Regions from separate parts of the Homo sapiens genome. Here regions 2, 3, 4, 5, 6 and 7 are each linked to region 1. The links are contacts of gene promoters, found by promoter capture Hi-C in blood cells and fetal thymus (Javierre and others, 2016). All regions are on one chromosome and are shown on one strand. Each heading gives the region's core, a stretch centred on a gene start or on the middle of the fragment in contact. The rest is flanking DNA. Distances are from core to core; before and after follow the strand shown.

Evidence for each region. The method cuts DNA at HindIII sites, captures the fragments that hold promoters and counts their contacts. A CHiCAGO score of 5 or more calls a contact.
Region 2: a contact is called between a fragment that was not itself captured here and the fragment with the promoter of KTN1-AS1 in region 1, in 6 of 17 cell types (endothelial precursors, neutrophils, M0 macrophages and 3 more). The highest score is 9.6, in endothelial precursors.
Region 3: a contact is called between a fragment that was not itself captured here and the fragment with the promoter of KTN1-AS1 in region 1, in 1 of 17 cell types (megakaryocytes). The highest score is 5.5, in megakaryocytes.
Region 4: a contact is called between a fragment that was not itself captured here and the fragment with the promoter of KTN1-AS1 in region 1, in 1 of 17 cell types (fetal thymus). The highest score is 6.0, in fetal thymus.
Region 5: a contact is called between a fragment that was not itself captured here and the fragment with the promoter of KTN1-AS1 in region 1, in 1 of 17 cell types (monocytes). The highest score is 5.1, in monocytes.
Region 6: a contact is called between a fragment that was not itself captured here and the fragment with the promoter of KTN1-AS1 in region 1, in 1 of 17 cell types (fetal thymus). The highest score is 6.2, in fetal thymus.
Region 7: a fragment that was not itself captured here is called in contact with the fragment with the promoter of KTN1-AS1 in region 1 in 1 of 17 cell types (neutrophils); the score reaches 5.0 in neutrophils.

Annotation. Positions count from the first base shown.
Region 1 is chr14:55,578,088-55,582,209 of GRCh38, forward strand. It overlaps KTN1-AS1 (KTN1 antisense RNA 1), which reads right to left and starts at 2,005. Exons shown (of 3, transcript NR_027123.1): 1 at 1,849-2,005; 2 at 519-650. KTN1 (kinectin 1) reads left to right here and starts at 2,120. Exons shown (of 44, transcript NM_001079521.2): 1 at 2,120-2,267. RefSeq lists enhancers at 1,345-1,464, 1,475-1,564 and silencers at 2,005-2,264, 2,325-2,964, 3,144-3,438. The HindIII fragment of the contact is 5,026 bases long and covers 185-4,122 here.
Region 2 is chr14:56,476,616-56,480,737 of GRCh38, forward strand. No RefSeq gene overlaps it. Among named protein-coding and RNA genes, the nearest start is that of TMEM260, 100 kb to the right of the region's middle. The HindIII fragment of the contact is 774 bases long and covers 1,928-2,701 here.
Region 3 is chr14:56,459,140-56,463,261 of GRCh38, forward strand. No RefSeq gene overlaps it. Among named protein-coding and RNA genes, the nearest start is that of TMEM260, 120 kb to the right of the region's middle. The HindIII fragment of the contact is 246 bases long and covers 2,018-2,263 here.
Region 4 is chr14:56,409,706-56,413,827 of GRCh38, forward strand. The region is part of intron 6 of LINC02284 (long intergenic non-protein coding RNA 2284); the gene reads left to right. Among named protein-coding and RNA genes, the nearest start is that of LINC02284, 100 kb to the left of the region's middle. RefSeq lists an enhancer at 3,960-4,122. The HindIII fragment of the contact is 1,674 bases long and covers 1,357-3,030 here.
Region 5 is chr14:56,375,662-56,379,783 of GRCh38, forward strand. The region is part of intron 6 of LINC02284 (long intergenic non-protein coding RNA 2284); the gene reads left to right. Among named protein-coding and RNA genes, the nearest start is that of LINC02284, 67 kb to the left of the region's middle. The HindIII fragment of the contact is 1,277 bases long and covers 1,651-2,927 here.
Region 6 is chr14:56,355,102-56,359,223 of GRCh38, forward strand. All of the region lies in intron 6 of LINC02284 (long intergenic non-protein coding RNA 2284), which reads left to right. Among named protein-coding and RNA genes, the nearest start is that of LINC02284, 46 kb to the left of the region's middle. The HindIII fragment of the contact is 3,044 bases long and covers 615-3,658 here.
Region 7 is chr14:56,328,756-56,332,877 of GRCh38, forward strand. LINC02284 (long intergenic non-protein coding RNA 2284) reads left to right here. Exons shown (of 7, transcript NR_187174.1): 5 at 1,667-1,732. Among named protein-coding and RNA genes, the nearest start is that of LINC02284, 20 kb to the left of the region's middle. The HindIII fragment of the contact is 5,943 bases long and covers 1-4,122 here.

The DNA.
Region 1 (4,122 bases), core at 755-3,254:
CATGCCCAGCTAAGTTTTGTATTTTTAGTAGAGCTGGGGTTTCACCATGTTGGCCATGGTGGTCTCGAACTCCCGACCTCAGGTGATCCACCCAGCTCGGCCTCCCAAAGTGCTGGGATTACAGGTGTCAGCCACTGCGCCCGGCCTCTAGTAAATCTTTTTGTTTTGATGTGAATAAATAGAAAGCTTATAAAAAATAAAGCATTCAACCACTTCCCTTTCTATAGTCAAAGTTCAAACGCCAGAAAAGCCGAAATAGGTGATACAAAGTCATCCTTTAGTATAAGCAGTAGTATGTTTTGAGAAAATCCTAAACTCCACTCATTGTCTTACTTACAAGTGCACCGAAATATTATTGCCTGTAAATGACATTGCGGTTTTACTGGTCAGGAAAATGAATGATATAAATTTTTAATTCTAACCTAAAACCTGCGTTAGTACTAACCTGAGGAAATAACATGGTTGTTTGTAAGCTAATCAAGAGCCCTTAAACTCCATTACATAAATGATACACTTACCCTTTGTATTAAGGGACTAACGGCTTCGCTTTTCAACAAAGCTGGATCTTCTGGCACACGCTCAGAAGATAGCCAGTACTTCAGAGACAGATTGCTTTGAGGGCACTGGAACCGCTGAGGGGCAGAGTAATCCTAATGAGAAAGAAAAAAGAGGACGCCTCTGGAGTTAAAATAAGACAATGCATCTGTGGAGAACACGGTGACTGAAGACTGGCAGAATTCTCAATATCTCAGGCCACTATACACTGCGCAGTTTTCATTTGTATTTTGGAGGTGCTCTAGAAAACTTAGAAATGATTAGAATAAAAAGTATGGATACTTTTAACCAGCCCATGTACAGGAAATTCTGTTGGTGTAGAAACGGTTCTGCTGTTCATTCCTTAACTGCTTCTGTTCCCACTTTGTCAGATGTAGGGCGAGGTGGTGGTGGTGAGTCCTAATTTTTTCTATCTCTATCCACAGTCTGGAATCGTTAGGATTATTTTAAGCCTTCATAACATTTGCGGACAGCTTGGAGTGTTTTGTACATGTAGTGGGGCAGTGCCTGGCCTCCTGTGAGAGATTGATCATCGGTAAACAATCCACACGAAACTCACTTGCCAGTGGACGGGGAGGATCGCTGCCATCCTTTCAGCAAAGAGCAAACGAATAAGGAGAGATCCGGGCCCATCCCTCCTCGCGCAGCAGTTTCTAGATTTTTACCCCGGCTTCATAAATGGCTACCAGCTGGCAGTCACAACACTTTCATAATGTTTGCACACAACTCATTTGGGTCGCTTTCTTTTCTTTCCTTTTTTTTTTTTTTTTTTTGAGAGAAACGGAGAGTCTTACTCTCTCGCCCAGGCTGGAGTGCAGTGGCGAGATCTCGGCTCACTGCAACCTCCGCCTCCTAGATTCCTGCGATTCTCCTGTCTCAGCTTCCCAAGTAGCTGGGGCTACAGGCGTGCGCCACTATGCCCAGCTAATTTTTTGTACTTTTTTTGGCAGAGACGGGTTTTACTATATGTTGGCCAGGCTGGTCTCGAACTCCTGACCTCAGGTGATCCGCCTGCCTTGGCCTCCCAAAGTACTGGGGTTACAGGCGTGAACCACCGCGCCCGACCATTATTTGGGTCGCTTTCTAATTTCTTTCTCCGTTTGTAGCTAGCGTTGCCCGAAGGAGATTTCAGAGAGATCCCCTGGAGAAAGGGACGGGGGATGTCGTTTTCCAGTAATTTCTGGGGGAAATCTGGGATAGTCAGGGGGTAAATCTAGTGCCGTTTGCTGAAGTTAAAAGGCGTGGGGAGCCAGGTGGTGCCCTGGAGGGAGGGCCGCGCGAGACGAGACCAACCTTCGGGACAGGGGAGAGCGGGGCTACTGAACGCAGGGGATTCCGCTGAGCCTCCAGCCCCTGAGCGTCCACCTTCGGCCCAGCTGGGGGACGCGGTCTCGGGAAGAAAGCCCGGAATCCCGAGCCGGCCAGCCGCGAGCAGCGAGTACCGGAGCGCGTGGGCAGGCGCGCGGAGGCAGAGGCGGGCCGGCGGCTGTCCCTTTAAGGGGCCGGTCTCCCGGCGCCGCCGGCCCAGACGCCAGGACGTGCCGGGTCCGCCCCGCCCCGCCCCGAAGCCGCCCGTTTCCTGCCGAGCGGCGCGACGGCACCTGAGCGACTGCGGCGGCGGCGGCGGCGGCGGCGGCGCCTCGGAGCGGGCGGCCCGGGCTGTAGTGCCGGCGCCGCCGCGTCTTCCCGGTCTCCTTTCCCGGCCGCACAGGGTGAGGGAGAGCAGGCCGCACCGGGACGGGCGCCGGCGGCGGGGAGCGCGGGGGGAGGCGGCGCCGGCCGCGGGGTCCTGGGGCAGGCGGGAGGGCCGCGCCGGGCGGGGGGGCGCGGCCGCGGGGCCCGGACGCCGCCCGCTGGGTAGGCCTCGGGCATCCGGTTGCCGCCGCGGGGCTCTTGTTGGGGCCGGGACGCCGCAGGGGGCGGGCTCGGAGGGACCTCCTCGGCCTCGCGGGGCCGCTCTGGGCCCGACCCCGGCTCTGTCGCGGCACCCGGGGCGCGGCCGAGGGACACCCCCCACCCTCCCCAAGGACGACTCTCCCGAAGGCGAGGTCGACCCGAGCGGGCCCTGGGGTGACCGAGGCACCTATTTTTAGCCAAGCCTGAGGGCCCCCGGGAGGGAAGGCGGATTACCGCCTCCTCGGCCGGTGGACGGAGGCAGCGCGTCTCCGGCGGCGTCCCCGGGCCGGAGCTGGGCCACACTTACGCCATGCTGGAGTTCCAGTCCTCGCCGCTGCCTCCGGCGGTCTGGGCGCTCGCCCCCTTCCCCGGCGCCCCTCCCGCTGCCCTTTGCGAGTCCCCAGGTCAGGGCGGGAGGCGGTTGGGCACGGAAAGCAGCATGAGGGGGGACTTTGGAAAAATCCATGGACCACTCTCGACACCGGCGAAGTTATCCCTTCCTGTCCCCGAGGGGTGTGTCCTAGCGATTCGGCCTGACCCCTTCAGTTTCCAAAAGTGAGATTTTTGGCCTTGGGGACCTCGCCGGAAAACTACGCGGGAAGTCTAGAGAAGTCGTCTGGCTCTCAGCCATACGTCTGGTGTGGGATGTGCAGCCCCGCATGCTGGCGGTGAAGGCGCTGGGTGCACTAGATGTGGGCAGCCCCGGACGCGGGCAGCGGCGTCCCAGCCGGCCCCAGTTGCACCTTGACTAGGTTAGGTTGAAAGTAAGCTGTTCAGTGTTGGCCCTTCTTTCCTGTGGGAGGAAGGAGGAATCTAAATTCAGAACTGTGTTGGCAAACGGATTCCTTAGCCGCTATTTAAGTTAGTAGTGCTTAAAGAGCTACGGTTGAAGTTAACTGTTAAGGTGTGTGTGTGTGTGTGAGTGTGTGTGTGTGATGACTTTGTGGAAAGCCTTGAGTAAAGAGCTACGGTTGAAGTTAACTGTTAAGGTGTGTGTGTGTGTGATGACTTTGTGGAAAGCCTTGAGAAATGTAGACACTCATGGCCAGCCCAGCTAAAGATAAGCATCTTCGGTGAACTAAAGGTTCTGAATTGTATAGGAGTTGACTTAAAGTTAGAATTTTTGCTAAATTAGGTTGCATTTGTTTTCCTTAGCTTACCTAGCAGGCTAATGGCAACAGTGTCTCCAGTTTGGTCCGAAGCAATTGCTGGTGAGACTTGGGATAATGATCCCAAGCTGGTGAGACTTGGGATAATGATCCCAAGAATAACACTAAATTACTCTTGAGTATTTTGGGTAGACATGCCTTGCAGTAGACTTTCATATTTGATGTGCTGCCTGATAAAAAAGGCTCTTTTTTTTTTTCCTTTTTCCTTTTTTTTTAGTTTAAGGATCTAACCTGAAATAGCTGGGTCTGTTCATGAGTTTCCCTCCCACCCCAACATTGAGTTTCAAATGTCTCTTCTAATTTTGTAGCCTTCATCAGACATAACAATACCTTATCAAGTGAGCTTAGAGAATAAGGTGTTCTACTTGATTTACTTGAGGCTGATAATGAATTTGAAAATATAACAAGATCTATTGAAAAATTTTCTTAATACTTGAAAATTATAAAGAATATCAAGTATTTAACTCTTAATGATTCAGCGTCAGCATTATGAAGAGACATT
Region 2 (4,122 bases), core at 1,065-3,564, 900 kb after region 1:
CAGTTGAACAGCTATGTGGATGATGTTATATTTAGAAGCTATATTGCATGTACTTTTTACTAATTTTACTAAAAATATTGCTCATTTTCATTTTCACACAGAAGCATATTGAGGATCGGATGCTATCTTTGGTCCTCAGTGTGGGGTAGCCTTGCTCACCAGAGATAGAACAATTTTGTTTTAGGGAAAATTTTCCAGTCCCACTGAACACATATTCAAAGCAGTGAGCTACACCACCTCTGTGTTTTTCCTGGCTCTTGCATGAAATAAAATACCTGCTCACAATTTCCTGTGCTGACAGATTAGGGATAAAATGTCTGAGCTCAAGGAGAAATGGGAAAACCTGCTGGATTGGATTGGTCATTTGGGAAGACTAACATAGGATACAAGGCACCCGCTTAAAACATCACCTGGCTATTTTAAAACCTTTCTGCAGGTCAATGAGCTAAATGGGAGTTCTATGTAGAGGATAAGAAACTATTCATTTCTCTCAGGCTTAGCTTTTCAGAAAAGCCCTCAAAAAAAAAAAAAAAAAAAAAAAAGTCCCTCTACTTCGAGTGCACTAAATCCTCTTGGTGACTTTGGTGAAAGAGACATGAAAGAGCTGATGAAGGCAAATGTGTTTCAGATGGAAAATAATAGCTCTTGGAAAGCAATGCCTGGTGAACATCTGGTGTCCCTTTATTCTGAATGAACATCTGTCACCCTTGGTTAATAGTTTACACCTGTTGACCCAATCAACATCCCTACTACAACCAAAGGTGAAAATACTGATGTTGAGGTCCCACCCCCTAGAGATCCTGATGGAATTTCTTGAGTTTGGCCTAAACTTTGGGATCTTTAACACTCCCTGGATAATTTTAATACGCAGCCAAGATTGAGAACCACTCTGTAAACAGGAGACTTTAATTGGATTTGGGAATATGACTTATTAATGCAAAAATTAAACTAGAGATATGAATTGTTTACAGACTTTTATCATGTGTTTAAAATATTTTAAGTGGTTCTGTTTACATTAAATTTATATCATTTTGATAGTTTTAGACAACTTTGTATTGGATTCATTGAGTCCCTGTCAATATTATAATTCATTGTTTCAGTTATAGGCACTATTAGCAAACAGAAAAATAAAAGTTATAAGTCTACATATTGCTTAAACGTCTATGCATGCAATCCTTCCTTGTGGGGCAACCTTATGATGAATTATTATGGTTACAGACAACCTGGAGTGATTGTTTAGTGTTTCATTACTTTTTTATTTTAAAATGATCTCATATAGTCGCGTTTTGTTTTTTTATCATTGGATAAATATAACTGGGTGACTAGGTGTGGATCTTTGTATAGCAAAGTGACAATTTAACTTGTAATGATAGAAATAGGATTCTAGAAAATCTGTTAAGAAGTCTGCTGGTCAAACATTATCTGAATTCAAAAGTGACTGAACCATGGAGCCAATAAACTATCCTCATGTTGGCAATACCGTGTCCTGTATCTTCAACCGTCTTTATGACTTTGGTTTAATGACTATTAAGGCATGACCACAAACCAAAGAGGAAAAAAATAACGCTGAACTCTAGTCCTAACCCAATGCAAACACATAGATCTATAACTACTCCCCCCACCCACCCATGTATCTACTCGAAAGGAAAACTCAAAAAACTATGAAAACTGTGCCTATTTGAAACCCTTTATTGGTTGTCGCTTTGTTTCATGGTGGCAGATGGGTCAAGTGGTCAACTTAAGATGCACTTTAAGATTACATTCTTCAAAATAAGCAGAAGCCAAAAAAATTTTTTTAACCTGGTGGTTTAGTAAAAACAGAGTTCACTTTATCCTTTTATTTATTCATTCATCCAAGTAGCTGCTGTGTGATAAACAAGTATGCATATCCCTCAGAGGTAGCTAAGAGAAAACCTCCAAGCCAAGAAGCTTAGTCAGGAAAGCCAGTGTTCTATCACATCTGGCCTCAAAACATTTAAAATGTCTTCATTATAAAATTGAGTATACATTTTTAAAAATCTTTAATTTTATTTATTTATTTATTTGAGGCAAGTTCTTGTTCTGTTACCCAGGCTGGAGTGTAGTGGTGTGATCATAGTTCACTTCAGCTTTGACCTCCTGGGCTCAAGCAATCCTCCTGCCTTGGCCTCCCAAGTAGCTGGGAGTACAGGCATGCACCACCATGCCTGGCTAATTTGTTATTTTTTGTAGCAATGGAGGGGGGTCTTGCCATGTTGCCTAGGCTAGACTTGAACTTCTGGCCCCAAGTCATCCTTCTTCTTTGGCCTCCCAAAGTGCTGGGATTATAGGTGTAAGTCACAATGCCTGGCCTAAAAATCTTTAAATATTTTCCACTGGCTTATTTTTACATTCGTAAGTGATATTTTCACCATAAGTCATACAGTTTCTGGGCCTCAGTTCCTCACTTGTGAAGTAATCAATCAGAGCACAAAGGCTAAGCTGCCATCAAGAGACTTAAAATCACAGTGACTTCAATGGGTAGGATGAGAGAGAGCTTAATTTCCCTTCCATGTCCCAGGCTGATCTGGCATTCTGGGATAGTTGGGCTGCTCTGTTACAGAAGGTCATCTATTGACCTGGGATGGCTAGTAGCTCTGTTATTCTCAGTGTGTGACTTCTATCTCTGAGCCCAAGGTATCTACTGTAGCTGTTGCTGCTTCCCAGCCATCAGAAAAAGGAAAGCTTGTGAAAAGCTGCTACTTTGCTGAGGAACTGACTGGAAGTTGAATGTGTCTCTTGTGCTCATATCTCATTGATTCAAATTTAATAGCATGGCGATTCTTAGCTGTAAAGGAGCTAGGGAAATGCACTGTCTTGTTGTGTGGTGTGCTCAGATAAACCTTGGAGAGTTCTATTACTACAGGGCAGAAGGGGAGAATGAATAGTGGGAGATGTTTACTAATCTCTGCCATTTGAAGGGTTGTGACTACATGATTTTTAGTATTGCATTCAGCAGTTAAATCCTGCAAATTCATGATTTTGCATGATTTTGACCAGTCTGCTCTTTAATTTTAAACCCAAAGAGTGTGTGTGTGCATGTGTGTGTGTGTGTGTGTGTGTGTGTGTGTGTGTGTGTGTTGGGCAACAGATGGAGAGTAGGGCAAACAGATGCACTATATTTCTTAATCGTCAATTAACCCAGTGCTTCTCAAACATTAATGTTCGTATAAATCACATGGAGAACGTGTTAAAATGTAGATTCTGATTCAATAAGTCTGGAGTGTGCCATGAGGTTCTGCATTTCTTACAAGCTCCTCTGATGAAGCTGATGTCGATTCTGCTGGTCCGCAGTTAACATTTAGCAAGGAGCTAACCCATCCTGATGAGAAGGCCAGTGCTAGGTGAGGCCTTTTTGGAGAAATAGACAATATAGTAAAATCTCTACTCTCTCACACTGTGCCTTTGATGAAAGTAGACAAGGGATCATCTGGGTCAGCAAAAAGCCATCATACTTTTAATTTAAAAAATGGCAACCCAAATGTTAATTTCCCACGTATTGTGAAACTTGGGAAAGATGGTGTACAATGGGCTTGTGATACTTTCTGATGCTAACTCATGTAAATTCTCAACACATGATCTACCATCTAAAAGTAAAAGTAGATCATGGAATGTTTACATGGCATTTGTTTGGACTTTGGAAGCTTTTGCCTCCATTCCTGTATGGTTTTTTTTTTTTTTTTTTTTTTTTTTGCTAATTGTTTGATTTAAAAGTGAAATCTACCATCACATCCACATAAAGAGTTAATCTCTGTTGGACATCCAAGTAAATATGACAAGCAAAAGGCCATTTAGAGTCAGGAAAGTATTTCCTTCCCTCAAAGACTTTCCTACATATTTCAACTCAACTGGACATTATTAATATCAGTAGACACATATTGAACCATACTTACCTGCCACTTATTCATTTTATAGGATAAGACAATATTTTTCTTGATATAAATTGTTACTTGTCTAATTTAGGAAGTGTTTTCACACTTTGTGTGTGATGAGACATAACACATCGAAAGAGAAAATCGTGAAGATCTTTCTGACATCTTACCATATGACATCTTCTGTCCATTTCTGGACTACAGCATCCTGTCCATTCCCTGGACTTCACAC
Region 3 (4,122 bases), core at 891-3,390, 880 kb after region 1:
TGACTTCAAACTATACTACAAGGCTACAGTAACCAAAACAGCATGGTACTGGTACCAAAACAGAGATAAAGACCAATGAAACAGAACAGAGCCCTCATAAATAATACCACACATCTACAACCATCTGATCTTTGACAAACCTGACAAAAACAAATGGGGAAAGGATTTCCTATTTAATAAATGGTGCTGGGAAAACTGGCTAGCCATATGTGGAAAGCTGAAAATGGATCCCTTCCTTACACCTTATACAAAAATTAATTCAAGATGGATTAAAAACTTAAATGTTAGACCTAAAACCATAAAAACCCTAGAAGAAAACCTAGACAATACCATTCAGGCCATAGGCATGGGCAAGGACTTCATGACTAAAACACCAAAAGCAATGGCAACAAAAGCCAAAATTGACAAATGGGATCTAATTAAACTAAAGAGCTTCTGCACAGCAAAAGAAACTACCATCAGGGTGAACAGACAACCTACAGAATGGGAGAAAATTTTTATAATCTACCCATCTGACAAAGGGCTAATATCCAGAATCTACAAAGAACTTAAACAAATTTACAAGAAAAAATCAACCCCATCAAAAAGTGGGCAAAGGATATGAACAGACACTTCTCAAAAGACATTTATGCAGCCAACAAAGACGTCAAAAAATGCTCCTCATCACTGGCCATCAGAGAAATGCAAATCAAAACCACAGTGAGATACCATCTCACACCAGTTAGAATGGCAATCATTAAATAAAGTCAGGAAACAACACGTGCTGGAGAGGATGTGAAGAAATAGGAACACTTTTACACTGTTGGTGGGACTGTAAACTAGTTCAACCATTGTGGAAGACAGTGTAGAATTCCTCAAGGATCTAGAACTAGAAATAATATTTGACCCAGTCATCCCATTACTGGGTATATACCCAAAGGAGTATAAATCATGCTGCTGTAAAGACACATGCACATGTATGTTAATTGCAGCACTATTCACAATAGCGAAGACTTGGAACCAATCCAAATGTCCGTCAATGATAGACTAGATTAAGAAAATGTGGCACATATACACCATGGAATACTGTGCAGCCATAAAAAAGGATGAGTTCATGTCCTTTGTAGGGACATGGATGAAGCTGGAAACCATCATTCTCAGCAAACTATTGCAAGGACAGAAAACCAAACACCGCATGTTCTCACTCATAGGTGGGAACTGAACAATGAGAATACTTGGACATAGGGTGGGGTACATCACACACCGGGGCCTGTTGTGGGGTGGGGGCAGGGGGGAGGGATAGCATTAGGAGATATACCTAATGTAAATGATGAATTAATGGGTGCAGCACCCCAACATGGCACAGGTATACATATGTAACAAAGCTACACGTTGTGCACATGTACCCTAGAACTTAAAGTATAATTTTTAAAAAATGCACACAAAATAAATAGGTACTGGGATTATCCCCATTCAACTAAATACATATATACACCAGGAATAAAATAATACTTTATTTATATTATATATTTATATATAATAAAATATTCTATTAATTTATATAAAACAAATTATATATAATTTTATTTATATTATACATAATAATATATGTTTATATTGTATATATGCGTGCACTTCACAATATGTGGTAGAGCATGACCACATACTGTCTTTATCCTCACCTACCCCCTCTCATAGCTGTAATTATATTTGGAATTATGGAGGAAAGGGAGATTGGTAGTGGTAAATCTTTATCATAGGAAGTCAACAGATACATAAAAAATGCATAAATCCTGAAATCACAGTAGAAGCATATTATCTAGAAATATAGAGATACCAGAAGAAATAGCTAAAAGATTTGAAAATTGTGGCCTCTGAGAAGGTGATGAGGATTGGAGCTAGAAATTACTGGGGTTTTTTAAATTTATTTTTTAATTTACAAATATATATATTTATTGTGTACAACAATGTTGTTTTGAGATATTGTATACATTGTGAAATGACTAAATTGAGCTTGAAATTACTGTGTTTTATCATAAGCTTTGACACATTTAACAGTGCATGTGTATCTTTGATTTTTAAAAATTGTCAATTTTTTTTAAAATGTTACAAACACAAACATGCAACTAAAAATATCCTTTCAAAAAATTGTTTAGATTGGAAGAATTTCTTTTCCTGATATAATGATGCTCTTGGTTACTCTTTGTAGTCATTTTAATAAGAAAAAATAATAAGCAGCAAATCTCAACAAAAAGAAAGGCTTTGTTTAGGTAAATTACAAGTAAGCTTTCCCTCGTGGAAATCTTTGCCTAATTGGGCTGCAGCTGCTGCTAATTTATGCTTTTCACTGTATCTCAGTTTGGTCTTGCATGTGTATTTGTGTTTTAAATATCACACAATTTGAGGCTTTCATTTGATGGCATGAGTTTGGATACAACTGGAGAGGCTTATGAGAGTCTTATCCTAAGAAGAATTTACTATTTTGTTACAGTTTTTGCTGTACACCTGGGAGCTACTGAATGTAATTGGAGTACAGCTAAGAGAAACTAGGTTGGGGGTCACTGTAATCACATTTGATTTTATTTTCTCATTATATTGTTCTGGTTCATTCATTCCCCTCTCCCGCATTAGTATCTAAGGCACTGTGTCATGAAGGCAGAGCTGGGATGAAAGCAGCTCTGATTGACTGGTTAGTATGTACCCTGGTTCATTGAACACAGAACTCAGTGCTTGAACCTCTCTCTAAAAGAGGCGGCATTCTGGGCACAAAGTGGAGAGGCAGTTAGCTGTTTTAGTTTGAAAAATGGAGAATACCATCTGGGCATATTTTTCTTGTGCCTAGGAGTATTTCTGCTAGGTCTGCTGGACACCAGTTGCATTTCATTATCCTCTAACAAGCGGCATCAGTCATGGTCCCGTCTCTCCATGGCTCGCAGGAAGGAGCAATGAACAGAACATACTGTTGTTCGTCTTTTTCAGTCTAGGTACAAGGGGCAGATTTCATTTCATTATTGAATTGCAAGTCATACTCAGCTGAGATGAATCACTTGGTGAAGATTATTACTGCTTTTTTTCCCATTCATATTTTACAGAGCCAATAGCTAACTTAAAATAAAAAAGTAATCGGAGTCCAACTGCCAGCTGTTTTATAAGGCAAAACTGGGGATTTTGAGTTTGAGGTACATTAAATCATATCACAAGATACTATTAAGTTGTTCTTTCTACAAGGCTCAAAAATAAAGTATTGAAAGTAATTTTGTTTAAAAAAAAAAAAAAGCAGTGTTGAACTTTGAAAACATTAAGCTAAGTGAAATAAGCCAGACACCACAAGACAAATATTGTACGATTGTAGGAGGTACCTGTAGTACACAAATTCATAGTGGCAGAAAGAAAAATAGTGGACAGGGACTGAGGGAAGGGGAAATAAAGAATTATTGTTTAATGGGTTCAGAGTTTTTGTTTAGGATGATGAAAGAGTTCTGGAGATGTTTGGTGCTGATGGTTGCACATTATTGTAAATGATGTTGTACATTGAACTGTACACCTAATGGTTAAAATGGTAAATTTTATGTATATTTTGCCACAATTTTAAAAACACAAAAAAGCAGTGTTTCGGCTGGGTGCGGTGGCTCACACCTGTAATCCCAGCACTTTGGGAGGCTGAGGTGCACATATCACGAGGTCAAGAGATCGAGGTCATCCTGGCCAACATGGTGAAACCTCGTCTCTACTAAAAACACAAAAATTAGCTGGGTGTGGTGGCACGTGCCTGTAATCCCAGCTACTGGAGAGGCTGAGGCAGGAGAATCACTTGAACCTGGGAGGAGGCGGGGGTTGCAGTGAGCTGAGATCACGCCACTGTACTGCAGTCTGGTGACAGAGTGGGACTCTGTCTCAAAAAATAAATAAAAAATAAAAGCAGTGTTTCCTGCATGATGCCGGTGTATTTCACATCATATAAATAGACACATCATGCAATCTTATAAAACTCAGTGGTATTTACTGCTCCTCCCATCCCCCAATTACTCTTTGGCCTTTTTCCCATATTGTTCCTCAACAAGAATAGGCAAGGGAAATAAAAGGAGAATAAATTTAAATTTATAAATATTGCTGATTACTGGTCCAATCCAAGGTCCTATTGGA
Region 4 (4,122 bases), core at 944-3,443, 830 kb after region 1:
TTTACCTATATAACAAATCTATACATGTACCCCTGAAACTAATAGTTAAAAAAAACTTTTGTAGTTTTAGTATTTCCATTTTTGTCTTTGATCTATTTTGAGTTAGTTTTTATATATGGCATGATGAAAGGGACCAACTTCTTTCTTTTGCCTGTGGCTATCCAGTTGTTCTAGCGCCATTTGTTGAAAAGATTGTTCGTCCCCTCATTGAATTGCTCTGACACTTCGGTCACAATTCAATTGGCCATTAATTAACAGCTTCTTTGTGCACTTTCAATTCTATTTCAATGATCTATAAGTCTATCTTCATGCCAGTACCATACTGTCTTAATTATTGGATCTTTGTCATAGGTTTCAAAATTGGGAAGTATGAATCCTCCTATTTTTTTTTTCAAGATTGTTTTGGCTCCAGAACTGTGGGAAATAAATTTCTGTTGCTTAAAATCTGCCCAATTTGTGGTATTGTGTTATAGCAACCAAAATGGACTAAGGCAAGCAGCCTTCCATAAGTTTTGATATGTTGTGGTTTTCTTTTTTTCATCTCAAAGTATTATTTCCTTTCCCTTGTGATTCCTTCTTTAACTCATTGGTTATTTAGAAGTGTGTCTTTTAATTTTCACGTTTGTGAATTCCTGAAATTTCTTTCCATTACTGATTTCTAATTTCATTCCATTGTGTCATAGAAGATTCTATGATTTTCATCTCTTTAACATTATTGAGACTTCTTTCTATAGCCTAACGTGTGTTCTATTTTGGGGAATGCTGAGTGTTTGCTTGATGCAACGTGTGTTCTGTTGTTTGGTGGAGTGTGCTATAGATTTCTGTTATGTTTAGCTGTTTTATAGTGTTGTTCAAGTCTTCCATTACCTTGTTGATCTTCTGCCTTGTCAGCCTATCCCTTATTAAAAGTGGGATATTGAAATTTACAACTATTACTGCTGAATCTAATTCTTCCTCAATTCTATTAATCATTCATGTATTTTGGGCCTCTGTTATTAGGGACATACATGTTTGTAATTGTTATGTTTTCCTGATGGAATGGTCATTCTGTGATTATAAAATGTTCTTTTTATCTCTAGTAACAATGGTCTTAAAGTCGATTTTTCTGTTAATATTATAGCCACTCCAGCTCTTTTTAGGTTACTGTTTGCATAGCAGATCTTCTTCCTTCCTTTCACTTATTTGTTTTTGAATCTTGAGTGTCTTTAGACTTAAGCTCCAAACCCATTCTTCTTCCTTCAGTAACTGCTAGGCTGCTGTTTTTACAGTTACCATGGCTGTAAGGCTGTTCACTTTTGAGACTACTATGAAACTGTGGAGAAGGGAATGGGGATAGGGCAAGCTAGAATGTCACAAAGCTTGCTGTTTTTACCAATAGTCAGCTGCTTTTCTTGAAGAAATGCACCTCAGAGTGTTGTATACCTTTGGCTAATTTCCACAATTCTGAAAAAAATTGATTTTGACTATTTTTGCCAGGATGTTTATTGCTTCTTATGGAAAAGTCTATTTTTGGAGGTCATTACTCTACCATTCCAGAAATGTTTCCCTAGAATCTGAATTCCCACAAGATCCTCAGATAGTTGTAGGCACATAAAAGTTTGAGAAACCTTGGTTTATAGGATATCACCTGTCCCTAAATTTTCTGGATATCTTCATTTGAAGTTATCAGGTGACCAAGGAATCTTCCAATTGGTTTGGATTCTAACTGTATATAGGTAATATCTAATATGAAAAGTTTATATTGTCAGATCCTACAATGATTAAAAAAAAAAACAGCCTCTGTCTACCTTTGTGCTTATTTCTGGAAATGTTTGTATGAGCCTTGATCATTTTATTTGATTGTCACTCATTAATTAACATAAAAGTTTCCACTTGGTATAATTTTTTGGCATCTTCTCACCAAACATGGGTGTTGCTGGCTATTCTAAATGAACTCAGAATACCCTATCTCCTGACCCAAGGGTAGCCTGTTTTCTGTGACAAAGTAAACAAAATAGTTTCTTCCTAGCTTTTGTTTATTTGTTTGTTTCCTGAAAGAGCCATTGTGTTTCAAGGAGAAGAAGAAGAAGAACGGAACAGTTTGCTTCCTTGGAGTGCAACTGTCCCCGGGCTGGTTAGGAGGTGTAATGTGGAGCAAAGGCCGTGCGCTGAGAGGAAATATGGCCTGGTTTCCCTCTGCCTCATCCTGGGTTCTCCTCTCACCATTTCTACTCATCTTCTTACACATCTTTCTTTTTCCTTCTTTCTTCCTATTTCTTCCCCATTTGTCTTATTCAGTAAGAACTCATTTATTGGTCAGTTCACAGGATTTTCTGCTTTTCAGAGAAATTTTGGAGCAAAACTTGATTTCCTTTTCTGATCTGTGACCCTATGTCCTTTCTGGCCTTGTCTGCCTCTCTTAGCCTGAACCTTTCCCTTTTCTCTTTCCTTATTGTCCCAACATTTTTAAGTAAAAAAATTATGTTGAGAGCACATCTCTTCCTCTTGGACATGGATGTAGAATTTGCCAAATTAACCACTCATGTCCATCCTTAATGTCCTACAACCAGGCCACTCTGCCATTAGAGAGAAGCAACTTTTTTTTCAGTATAGAAGAAAAGGAGGAGTTATGCTTCAAAGGAGAAAAATACTTCACCACCTCAATTGCTAATTTTGCTGAAGTCTTCAAAAATAACAAAATAAAATGTAAATCAATAGCTGCATGAAGAGGAACAGGCACTAGAACCGAGCTGTCTTGGACAAGAAGACGGGTGGGTACTGCTCAGGCTGAAATGCATTGGCTTGGATTTAACATATAGATGAAGCACAGCTCGGTGCCTTTAGCTGGTAAGAATCAAATCGTGAGGCTAAACACTAAATTAGCTGTGTGCCTGTACCTCACAGCAGAGCCAAAATGAGGCACTGTTTTTTTATCCCTGCACCTTCCGATGCCTGCCAAAAAGAATTCAAGCAAGGAAAAATATGCCTCCTGTTGTTTGGGGGAGTTACAAGATACATTTAAAAATTGATTTATGGTTTAATCGCTTTTGAAGCTTCATTATTCCAAGTATTAGCGTGAAAGACCATCTGATCCAGCAGACTTATTTGTTAATGCACCGACAGCAGCAACAGATGTGCTGTTTTTCATCTACAACCCGATCTGCTGGCTGATTCATCTGCTTCCGTTTTCATTTTCCTGTCATTGATTTATTAATGATGTCTTACTTATCTGTGGTTCTTTTATGGGGTGGGCTTCCTCTGGCATGGTCTCAAGAGAGATGTTTTTGCACCTTCCCCAGGCATCAAAAACCCAGCCCCCTTCTCCGGTGTTCTTTATCACCACTCCAGAGATTAGAGACTTTAATCATTTAGTAACTGAAATAACCTCCGTGGCTTGCAGAGTTTATGGCCAATTTGTCTTCATTGCACCGAATTCAACTGCTTTTCTTTGCTAAGGAATGGGCCTTGCTTATTATGCTCCTTCTTTGCACCAGAGGGAATCAGTGTGTTGTCTACAGACCCAATGCAGATAGTGGGTGGCTATGAGTGGCTCAGGACCATGAAAGTATGGCTCAGAGAACACATGTATGTATACCATAGGGCTATTAGCATGTTGAGTTGCTTAGAGTTTGGCTGTGGCTTTCAGCTCCAAGTAGCAAAGGAAGGGTAGACAGGAGGGTTGAAATTCTGGGACCATTTGCAGGACCATCACTGGGATTGTCTACTCCAAATGCCACATGGACCCCTTTTGTTGTCTATGTTAAAAAGGAAAAAAAAAGACCTTGGTTTGTTTTGAAACCTGAGACCCCTAGAAAACTTAAGATGCTGGGTAATTGAGACTTACAAAGATGTATTTCACCTAAATTTTACCTGAGAATCTGAAAACGATGACTTGTTATGCAGTTAAGGTTTGTAAAACTCCATATGTGTTAGGTAGGTCGTTGTAGACGATGTCATGATTCTCTGTCTAGATCCTCCCAGCAGCCTCAAGCACTCATTCCATCTCCCCAAGGCTGACAACTCTTAACTAAGTCCTTGTTTGGGACTTGTTCTGGGTTAAAGAGAGCCAGTCACCTTGACCAAGGTTACACTTCCTTCCAAGGGGCAACCCTTACTGGGTGCCTGCCCCACTCATCTCAACTT
Region 5 (4,122 bases), core at 1,039-3,538, 800 kb after region 1:
GGGATCCAGGGGACCTGTGGATGTTAATTATTCCATAACCCTAGCACCGTGACAGCAGGGCTTTCACCTCCTGTTTGGAAATGGTAGCAAAAATACAAGGCTGAGGCCTGAATGAGGATTCTCTTGGTCACAGTATAAATATGAAAACATAATATGTCTGTATTTAAATTCTGCAACAACAGATTGTCTTCAGCCAATGTGCACACTGGGTTCTTAATAGCAGAGGTAGCACTGAAGTGAAAAACCACAGAAGCAGATGTCCAGAGGATCATCATTCCTTTTACTTTCTCCTTAATTCAATATTTTTTTCACTTATTAGTTGCAAGTATACCTTTATCTTGGGCCTGTGAATTTTATGCTACGAAATAATGTGTGATTTCCAATGTATTGACCCCCCACCCCCTTCTTTCACAGATGTATCCATCACTACCTTTATTCCTGCCATCATAATATGTACCCGCCCCTCTTGATCAGGCAGGCCCTGGTAGAAGAAATTTCTGATTAGCATGTGAATTAGGCTGGGCTTCAACATCTAAATAAGCACCTGAGTCCTGAGAGAGGGTCTTGACGAATTGGTGTGGATCGTCCTTGACTAGCAGGCCTGTGTACTGAATGAAGCACTTGGAATCAGCTGAAAGGGCATCAGAGAGTCACTTCTGAGTTCTCAGTAGTCACTCCAGTCACGTATCTTTCCTTCTTCTCACTTTCCTATCTGTTTGCCCCACCCCTGGCCCCTCTAATTTCCCATTGTCCTTATTCAATTGCACTTCACTAAATATTTGTGAATGTTTATACTTCCTAAACAAGACATATTCATGTAGCTGAACTTGAGGATATTTTATTCATATCCATCAGCTGCAGAGAAGGGAGAAGAGAACCAAGGGGAAAGAAAGAAGTTTGCTCCTCAACTGTGAGACTGTGTTCCAAACAGCCAGAGAGGCCTAGACTCAAATCCTTGTTCTGCCATTTGATATCTGAGTGCCTCTGGAAACCTACTGAACATCTTTTAGCCTTAGTTGCCTTATTTGCAAACCAGGCATAAAAATACCTACATTTCAGGGTTGTTGTCAAGGTTAGAGACAGTGTATAAGTTCCCAGCTCACGGTAGATGTTGAGAAGATAGTTGCTATTAATATTTTACATAGCGTTTTATATATATAATTTTACATCTTGCTTTTCTTGCTTAGCACTATAATATGAGCATTTTGCCACATTCTGAAAAACTCTTTGTAAACCTCATTTTAAAATGCTAGAGAAGCCACGTGCAGTGGCACACGGCTGTAGTTCCAGCTGCACGGGAGGATCACATAAGCCTAGGGGTTCAAGTCCAGCCTGGGCAACATAGTGAAACCCTGTCTCTAAAAAAATATATTAAAAATAACATACCAAAGAGTAGTTAATCAAACAGATGTACTGTAATTATGTAACTTATTATTAGATCCTTAAGTCCTTCCTTCCTTCTTCTTTTCCTTCCTTTCCTTCCTTCCTTCCTTTTCTTTCCCTCCCTCTATCTCTTCCTTCTTTCTTTGTCTTTACCTCCATTCTTCCCTCTTTCTTCCTGCCTTCTTTCTTTCCCCCTCTCTTTCTCCTTCCTTCCTTCCTTCCTTCTTTCCCTTATAAAGGTGCTACAATGAACTCCTCTAAGCACAAAGCTTTATCTACATTTAGGTTCACCTTCCATGGGCTTTATTTCTGGAAGTCAAATTACTTTGTCAATGTGTATGGATGCTTTTAAGTATCCTAGTATATAGTGCCAGATTACTTTCCAGAATGTCTACCAGCTGCATGTGGCCCATTTTACTATATCCTTGGCAGCCAGAGCAGACACCACAGGTTACCTACCCAAGAGTCACTATTTCCCCCTTTTCCCTGTTACTAGTGGCTTAATTTCTTCAGATGTCCATGCTTCCTCTGAGAATAAATCCTTATCAGCCTAAGCCAAATTTGCTAATCTCATTTCTCTCACTAGAGATTGGTTTAGAGATGGGCACGTGACCGAGCTGGGGCTAATGAGATGAACTGTGACGTTTACTAGGTAAATGTTTTTCATTCTTAAAAATAGACCAGAACAGTCTCCTTCTGTGTGTAGAACATTGTTATGTATGCACATACACCTTGAACTATGACAGCCTGAGAATAAAACCAGTGGAGGATAAGAGACTGATAATGCTGTCGAACCCTAAACCAACTCAGGAGCTGTCCTTCCTTGGGACTTCTTTGTATGTGAAATAATATATTATACATACTGTTTTAGAAGTTTGCTTTGGGTGTTGATATTGCAGCTGAAGCATTCTAACTGGAACACTAGCGTTGTAATTATTAAAGATCTTTCTCAAATTAATTCAAACACACACACACACACACACACCTTAATTTTGATTCAACCTGCTGTTCTTTAATTACGATGAGAGCACGTGCTTATTCATATCTTTGTTAATAATTTGCATTGTCTTTTCATAAACTATCTGAAAAGATTTTTGAAAGATCAGTGGTCCACAGAAGAGGATCATTTGCAGACTAGACTGAGCAGATGAATGTGGCATTGAGGGCACAGTTAAGGTCACGTTGGAACTAAGCCTCCAGATGTCCAAAAACTCCTGTTGCTTGTCATGCAAATACTCCTCCAACTTGCAAAATGTCTTCAGCCCAGGGAAATCAGCTTCTGTCCAAAATATGGTAATGATGGAAGTCAGTCTTTCAGGACTCTTTGCTTATAAAAAGCTAGACCCTGGATGGCATTCTCTCAACAAGGAGACAAGAGGTCTGGCGGGCAAAAGAAAAGTAAGACTGAAAATGAAGGAAGGGTTGAGCAAGAACAAATACCTGCTGAGGACCTGCTGCCCAGAACACATAATGCGTTTCTCTCTGCTTTTTCCTGGCATTCCCAGTTTCAAGTCACTGTGGTCCTCCCATCCCTTGCCCAGTTAAGCTTATCTATGTTTCCGTTCTAGCATAAGAATGTTTTCATTAGATTTTCCAAATAGAGAAATGTTTTTCAATTACTCTGGTTTTGAAATAAACTTTGAACACAGGCATTGCAGCAAAAGTCTCTGATTCATTTCCTAGAAAAGGGAACATATGAAAATGAATCACCCTCCCTTTTTATTAGCACATCAGAGAGGCACAGAGTACTGAGTCATCAGTATTAAGGTAATGTATAATGGTCAGATAATTAGAAATTTAAATGGCTTGGGTTTAATAGGAGGTTTTCAATATTATGAATAGTCAGTGAATTCAAGCCCGACTGAGAAATGCCCCAGATGAAGTCTTGCCGATGGGTGTATGTATAATACATGGGTAAGGTTGTTTTATAAGAGACTTATTGACTTTATGGTCAAAGCTCTAGTACCTTCCATCAAAGTCTTGTTCTAAACCATTGTAAATTAACAGATCAATAGTTAATGGTACTGCCAGCCAAGTTTAAAGCCAAATAACTCAGATTCCAAGACAACTCGATTTTACTCATTTGTGATTCAGAGGCACTTTGGTAGACAAATTGATGTTTGTTTAGTCAATTTGTATATCCAGGGTCTTCAGCCTGAACCTACTTTCATTAAGCCCACAAAGACCATCTGCAGAGTGGGGCTGACTAATCTGAAGCTTGCTTCATTTTTGTTTGTGTCAAGACCTTTTATTGTAGAGATCCTTCACTAGGGGCATCTTGTATGATTAAATCTGATCGTCTGTGGTAAGATCTTTAAGATCCTGACTAAATAAAAAGTGGGCTTCATTACAAAGTTGGGAGTGAGAGAACATGAGAATGTGTGTGAGAGAAAAAAAGTACATTTTTAAAAGAAATATGAAACAGTTCGAGGGTGGGAGAGTGTGTGTTGTGAGGTGTACATGCCATGTGGCCTGTGGATGTATTGGTGGGTGAGGAGTGTTTATGCCGCTTTCCATTGCCTGTTAGCTGTGCCCACCACTTGGGGATTTAAAAAATAGTATTTCTCTAGCTTTAATGTGAACTCTGTTGGGAGGAAAGAACATAGAGGAAAAAAAATAGATCATGTGTGTTTCTGGCTGCCTGCTCTTTACATGCAAAATTATAAAATAAATAGGATCCCAAAATAGTACTGTCTCTGCTCCCAAAGAGATCTTCCACTCCGCTCTGAATTATAAAAT
Region 6 (4,122 bases), core at 887-3,386, 780 kb after region 1:
AAATTAAAAGGATTATTTATTCATGGCTACAAGGTATATACATATATATATACATATATATACATATATACATATATATACATATATACATATATATACATATATATACATATATACATATATATACATATATATACATATATACATATATATACATATATACACATATATACATATATACATATATATACATATATACATATATATACATATATACACATATATATACATATATATACATACACACACATACATACATACACGTATATATATGTGTATATATATATACACATAAACAAATAGCAAGTGTTGTCAATGTATATATGTGCATATAGAAATATTATCATACTGTTTAAAGTGAGTACATGAGTATGTTTAAGTGAACATGCCAAAGCTTCCTGCAATCAGAAGGTTTCTAAAAAGTGTATGAAGGTTTAAGAATAAGATACTGATGTCTGATTAGACTTTCAGTTTTGCCATTGCTTGATGATTTATGCTGTTTGTCATAGCTTCCTCGTATTCATTAGAAAATTGTGTTTTCCTCACATCCTGTGTCTACGCTTCTTTAAATGTTCGAGACACAAGGTTTAGAAAATCAAGTGGATAGTTTCTGAAGCTTATCTTAACAATGAATATCTTAGACTTAAGGATCTGGGACTACGATATAGAGCAATCATTATAATAATAATAGCTAATGTTTAACAACTTGGCCATTTACAAAGCACTTTCAGCTTTGTGTTTCTTTTGGTTGGTACAGTCTTGATTTTTAAAAATATTTATAACAGGTAACTCTTCCTTTTTAAATGCCATTTTTTATTGAATACTGGCTTATGTATCCTGTGGCAGAATCTCACAATCTCTATTTGTCTGAGTCCACACAATGTCATTTAACATATTCCTCTATCCCCCATAAGTTTGTAAACTAATATTTGCATCTGAAGACTTGATTAGATTCAGATTTAAGTTTTTAAAAGGTTACCTCATGGCAGGGCTATGAAATTTCCATTGAATCCCTTTAGAAGGCTCATAATATCTGGCTGTCTTTCCATTAATGCCTTTAAGGTGGATTAGTCAAATCAGGTTGTCAAGTTGATCCATCCTTTATAAAATTCCCCATCACAATTTTACCTAATGCTTTGAGCAGTCACTGATCATTGCCTAGAATAGACCCCTTGTTTTACCGGGTGTTCCAAAGTGTGAATTTTCTAATTCCACTATTCTTTATGCATTTATTAGCTAGAATTCCATAAGAAGAACTTACCCTTGTCAACTAGTTAGACATCCTAAAATACATTCAATACAGAAAAGACAGGATAAATGTCTATCCCATGCTTTTAACCACTGTGCTATCCTGGAAAGATAATGCTTTCTCACAAGCATGATCTGATAGGGTGGGGCTGGCATCAAAAGGGTCTAGCTAGTGAAGGTTCTCATCCTTAGGTCTCAGGAGACTATGCAGATTGAAGCAGGATTTCTGTTGGGAGATGGAAAGAGGAGATCAGGGCAAGCTACAGGGAGAGGAGTCTGGCAAAGTTTCTGCCCCAGCCCATGAGGCTGCCACAGACACAGAACTGGAGTGTGATGGGGAAATAGGACAGAGGCCCTGGAATATGGAACAGGCACACTGGGTGAGGTTAAAAGCGGGAGGAGTTAAGAACATCACTGGAAATGAAAGGGTCTAGGGTCTCCACCCAAGCAAGAGGAAGCTGAGCCAAAGTGTAGCTGGGCTCCTTAAAGGGGGCGGGGAATGAATACTAGACAATGTGGGACTGAGCCCTGGAGGGAGTGTTCTGAAAAGTGTTCGTGAAGGGCTGGGTTTGTATGACTGAAGAATCGTGCTGTACCACTGGGTCCGGAGCTGCTATGCCTTAGCTGGTTTGGCACCAGCCACCTCCTCATGAACCCCAACTGGAAACTCCACTTCCATGACCGAACAAAAAGGACCAGATTTCCAAAGGGACACAGCTAGAGGAAATGGAGCCAATACTAACTTTATATGGCCAATGCATTCATCACTGGTTCAAACCGGTACCCAGTCAGTGAATCCGCCACCCTGATTTTGCCCATGTATGACCCTACTCCCAGCGCAATCACATAAATGCCCCCAAAACGTTGAGTTGGAGTATTTCTGGTTCTAGAGCTGTGTTATCTAGGCCAGAACAGCTAAGAGATGTAAATGCAGACTCTCCAGGGCCTCTGCCCATCCTCTCAGCACCTGACTCCTCTCACTTGGGGCTCCAGAGACCCATCCCTGCTATTATATTCAGGAATTGACTGTAAAAACCAAACCACTCTGACCGATTAAAATTTCTTGTCTTCCTGCTGCATTACTTACAAGAGAACCAAGAACTATTTTTAGATTTAAAAAACAGCAGTTTGCTGGTGCTTGCCATCCCATTTGTAACAGATTTCCAGAGATTAACACTTGCTAGGTTTTTGGCCACGTTTAATCACAAAAGTAATTCTCCATTCCATCAATACGCTCAGCTCGAGGGATAAAAATAGCACTGCAATCTGGTTGGGTGCCTCTCAGCCGTGGGGCTCTGCTTCCCCAGTTGCTGTTTTAATGTTGTTATGGAATTGCTGACCCGCTTTAAGGATATGTGTGTGCAAGGCAGCACATGAGGGTGGCCCGTATCTGATGTGCTGTTAGGCTCAGTGAGGCCCTCCGCATGCTAGAAAAGCGGTCTCTCCACCGAGCAAATGAAGAGTGTAATTGTGTCTGATTATCTGGCCAGATTTTATAAGTGAGAAACTATATAGTACAATTGTAGCTACTTGAGAGGCTGAGGCAGGAGAATCGCTTGAACCCGTGAGGCAGAGGTTGTGGTGAGCCAAGATCACGCCACTGTACTCCAGCGTGGGTGACAGAGCAAGACTCGGTCTCAAAAAAAAAAATTACTTTAGATAAGAAGTATTAATACTTCAGTAGGTGAAAATTACTCCATGACAGCCATCCTGGCTGTGGCTCCTCTTTTCCTGTAGGGTGTCCACTAACCAACCGCTAAAGAAGGGAAGAAACTCCAGTAGGAATTGCATGTCAGCTTCTGCCTTGATTTGCTTTTGTTTCTCTGTATAACTCCAGTTGTGTAGATCTGCCAATATGGAGCTCTTGTGGCTCACAGGAAATAAATGTCACTAAATGCCACTACAATCAGTTTACATTGGTCATCCTGTAAAGTTTTCTTTCTGGTCTCTAGAAATTACTGATATTCTTGGATCTCCACATACCTGTGGTGGATTTTCAAGGCGTGAAGAAGGTACCCCCAGCTGCCTCCAGAGAGAAGGCATGGGGCTTCACCTCTCTGTTTGGAGAGCTTTCAATCCTCTGTGCTGCTTCTGCAGTATGTTAAATGATGTCTCATTCATTGCTCATCATGTGTTATTCTGTGGGTGAACGTCTTGGTGGCAGAACTTCTGAATCTATCAGACACAGTCTTCCTTTCTCTGATAACAGCCACCCCAAGAAGACATACAGGTCCCCTATGCTCACAACTAAGGTAAAAAATAACACACACAGAAGCATTCTGGCCACTCCAAATGTAAGTAAATTTGAAAACCCTGGAAGAGTTATTGACTTTCCTCCTGACAGAGTCCTCCATAGCGCTTCCTGCCTCCTTGTCCTTCCAGGCCCTTTTTTCTGCCATATTCTTCATCAAGCTTAATAACTTAGGAAACACCAATCCCTCTTCTTGGGACCCTTTTCTTCTTGGGAAATGGATTTTCTTAACTGATCAATTATATGATGTCTTACATTGATGGACATGATTTTTCATAACATCATGTATTTTAGAATTAGGGAGGAAAAAACAAAGAATATCTAGTCCAGCATTTATCCAAAGTATAATCTGAAACACACTGAGCAGAGAGATGTTATAGAAAAAGCGTCCCACAGTCAAGCAAGTCTGGAGAACATTAACCGAAATTCCCAAGTCACATTGGCTAAATTTCAAAGGCTTCTCTCAGACCCCCTTGCGGTAACAGGCTAGTCTAAATATGTTAAACCCATTGTTTTCAAATTTTTACTTAGGATAACTTTTCTAGATAATGTTTATTACGTTTCTATAGAACATAATTCAGAAATGTCAATCCTATCTATTTTCTCCATTTTACAAATGAGAA
Region 7 (4,122 bases), core at 1,121-3,620, 750 kb after region 1:
ACCTAGATCAGTCTATGAAACAAGTACATGTCCACTACACTCTTCCTTTTCTCGTATTGATAACCTGTAACATGGTATATTAGTCTGTTCTGCATTGCTATAAAGAAATACCTGAGATTGGGTAATTTATTTTAAAAAGAGGTTTAATTGGCTCATGGTTCAGCAGGCTGTACAGGAAGCATGATACTGGCATCGGCTCAGCTTCTGGGGAGGCCTTAGGAAACTTAAAATCATGACGAAGGTGAAGGGGGAGGCAGCATGTCACATAGCTGGAGCAGCAAGAGAGAGCAGTGGGGAGGTGCCACACACTTTTAAACTACCAGATCTCACAAGAATTCACTCACCGTCACAAGGACGGCACCAAGGGGGATGGTGCTAAACCATTCATGAGAAACCCACCCCCGAGATCCAGTCACCTTCCACCATGTCCCACCTCCAACACTGGGGATTACAATTCAACGTGAGATTTGGGCAGGGACACAGATCCAAACTATATCACATGGGAATCAGTTTTACGTCTGGATTTGTGTGTTCCAGTGGATTGTCACTAAGTAGAAATCTATGCTCCTGGATCCCTCACAGAAATCAATTGGAATTCTGTGTAAACAAAAATACTTCCTAATGAATTCTAGGGAGAACCATTTATGTGGGTTTACGTATTCAATTTGTTATCACTGCTCCTAATGCTAGGAGGTGTGCGTAAAAGGAAGAAGGATTCCAATATTACATTAAGGGAAGCCGTAAAAGTCCCTTAAAGGGACGCGAGATACCAACGGTTTGAATTGCTTAGTCTCATTTTTGAAACAGGCCCCCTTTTTAAATGTCTGGGCCTTGAAGCTGGAGATTCCGCTTCTGCTTCTCTGGGCTGGTGTTTCACAGGGCACTGTTGTAGAGATGTATTTCAGAGAATGACATTCAGATATTGGGAAGTAAATGATGAATGAGCAGACATTATTTGGGCAATGCAGTTTTCAGACAGAGGCTGCAAGAGAATATATTTTCGGGTGCTTCTGTTGGTATTTAACTTGCAGACTGTATATACAGTAAATCAGGAGGGCCAATAATACAGTACATAGGGAGATGTTTTATGCAGGGTTCTGACAATGTACAACAGCTGCCCTAGCAGAAGGGGTATGGATTTATGGACACGCTTGCAGGTGATGACAGCCAATATGTAGCAAGGTTCTCTATCGATACCTGGAAGTATTTATTTTTTTGGTTCATCCTGAGGTAAAGGAAAAATGAAAGGCAACTATGGATCTTTTGACACCAGATATGCAAGCTGCGTAGCAATTGCATAGCTTTTAAAGGATGGAGAAAGAGCTTAATATAACACACTCGCTCGGAGTCCTTTTTAAGACTCAGTTTCTTGGTGTCAGTACCATCCAGAAAAGGTCTTTTTTTTTTTTTTTTTTGCATCCCTGATGGTTCTCTCATTTTATCTGTGGGGTGGGGCCAACTTATCCCATAGGCACAGCAGGCGCAGCGGCTGAGCCCACACCACTTTCAGGGGGCCACAGAAAATGTTTCAATTTTAGCTTCTTTTAAAATCAGAAGAAAAATGAATATAATAATAACAAATATATAGTGATTGGTCCAGCATAGATTATACTTGTCTTTACACCAATGAAGTCATAAAATATTTTAATTATTTTTTTAAATGCAGGAAGAAGCCCAGAAAAACCAAAGCGCCTAAGGCCCATGAAAGCTGTAATGACTCCTTACCATGAAGGTGAGCCAGGCTTAAAATCTCGCTTTTTCCCATATCCCCAGGCAGGCACCAGAGACTGCCCGTGGCATTGGGCATTTGATGAGGGCGAGCTGTTTCTGGTCTCGAACTCTCTCTGAAGAAACTCAGCTAGGGATTGGGGCCTGTCCATGAACCAGGCTCCCTCAGCCCATCCAGAAGCCACTCCCACAACCTTGACTCGATTTTCTCCCTACCTCACCCCAGAGCTGAGACACTTTCATGACTCCTCTGAGCATCTCTCCAGCTTAGCAGATTCCTAGGGTTGCCGTAACAAATACCACAAACTGGGTGGCTCACACAACTGAAAGCTATTCTCTCCCAGTTCTGGAGGCCAGAAATTCAACTCAAGGCGTCAACAGGGTTGGCTCCTTCTGAGGGCCATGAGGAGGCATCTGTCCCATGTCCTCTCCTAGCTTCTGGTGGCTTGCTGGCAATCAGATATCCCTTGGCTTGTAGATGCATCATCCAGATATTTCATCTTCACATGAAGGCATTCTGTGAGCATGTCTGTGTCCATTTGCCCTTTCTTTTTTTCTTTTTTTGAGACCGAGTCTTGCTCTGTCGTCCAGGCTGGAGTGCAGTGGAGTGATCTCCACCCACTGCAAGCTCCGCTTCCCAGGTTCACACCATTCTCCTGCCTCAGTCTCCCAATGGCTGGGATTACAGGCACCCACCCGGCTAATTTTTTGTATTTTTAGTAGAGACGGGGTTTCACCGTGTTAGCCAGGATTGTCTTGATCTCCTGACCTTGTGATCCGCCCATCTCGGCCTCCCCAAGTGCTGGGATTACAAGCATGAGCCACCGTGCCCGGCCCATTTGCCCTTTTTTATAAGGACACAAGTCATATTGAATTAAAGGCCACTCCACTATGACCTCGTCTTAACCAATTACATCTGCCCTGTTCCCAAATAAGGTCACATTCTGATGTATGGGGAGATAGGGTTGCAACATCTGAATCTTTGGGGGCCAGGGAGGTGTGGGGCAATAGAACTCCTAAAATCAGTTCACGAAGATGCTGTGATCTCAGTGTGGGTTTGGAGTGTGAGCCCCTTCTGCCTGATGTTCCAAAGCAACTCAGCGTGAGTGAGGCCTCTGCACCTCTCTCAGTTCACTCTTCTCCATCCCAAGGGAGGTGTGTGCCCCCTCACTTCCAGGAGTGTAATCAGGGATTCTCGTGCCCAGTGCCAGGTAGGGGGGAAGGGAAAAGAGACAGGGGTCTCCATCACCTCCTGTATAACCTCAACGCCTACTCAGCAGGAAGTGGGTAAAGAGTGGACAGAGGAGTTGAGGTGAAACAGAAGGTCGCCAGATGTGGGAACAGAGGAGGAGGTAGCTGACAGGTAGGACCAGAACCAGCCAGCTTTATCTGATTGTCTCGATGTCAATTTCACACTACTCTTTTCATGAGCAGGGTGGAGGATCCAACCCAGGCCAGGGTCAGGAGCATAGATGCTGAGTCTGAAGAGCGGGTGTGGGTGTCGGGAGGCAGGGGGGTTTGTAGGGCTGGCATGGAGCCCAGGACACATGTGGGAAGCACTGAACAGTTCAGCACAGCAGCTGTAGGCATTAGCCAGTTTAGTTAATCAGCAGTGCAAGCCCCCAAGGCTCAAGTCCTCTTTGTACAAAGATGACAGTAAACAGGAGTGGGCGCAGTGGGAAAAGAATAGACTTGAGAGTTAACCAGACCTAAATTTAAATTCTAATTCTGAGTCCACTTGGCTTTAGGCAAATCACCTTATCTTTCTGGCCCCAAGTTCCCACATCTTTTAAATATAAAATGGGAATAATAATAATAATAATACTTACCTTATAAGGTTGTTGTGAGGGCTAGATGTACTTATATGAAAGAGAGAGTCCTGGCAGGTGGTAGGTGATGAATAAATGGTAGCCAGTAATGGTGGTGAGAGAATCTTGTACTAACTAAATAGTATCACTCACACTATGTGCTTGAAGTCGAAACCAAGGCTTAAACTTCCAGGAGTGGTTCTTTAGTTGTGGGCTTAAAATGTACACACAGGGTCTCACATATTGTCCCTGGGTTAAAATTTTTGTAAAATAAGTGTCATTTTTCTCTCTATGGGACACAGATAGAAGTGGTCAGGATGTTACAGGGAAGTGTATTCTTTCCTATTATCAAAGGGGTGATAATGCCCAGTTATTGTCCTGGCAGTTGGACCTCTGCTCTGCTGTCCTTAAAAGTGAGTGGAGGCCAAGTGCAGTTTCTCACGCCTGTAATCCCAGCACTTTGGGAGACTGAGGTGAGTGGATCACTTGAGGTCAGGAGTTCGAGACCAGCCTGGCTAACATGGTGAAACCCCATCTCTACTAAAAATACAAAAATTAGCCAAGCGTGGTGGCACATGCCTGTAGT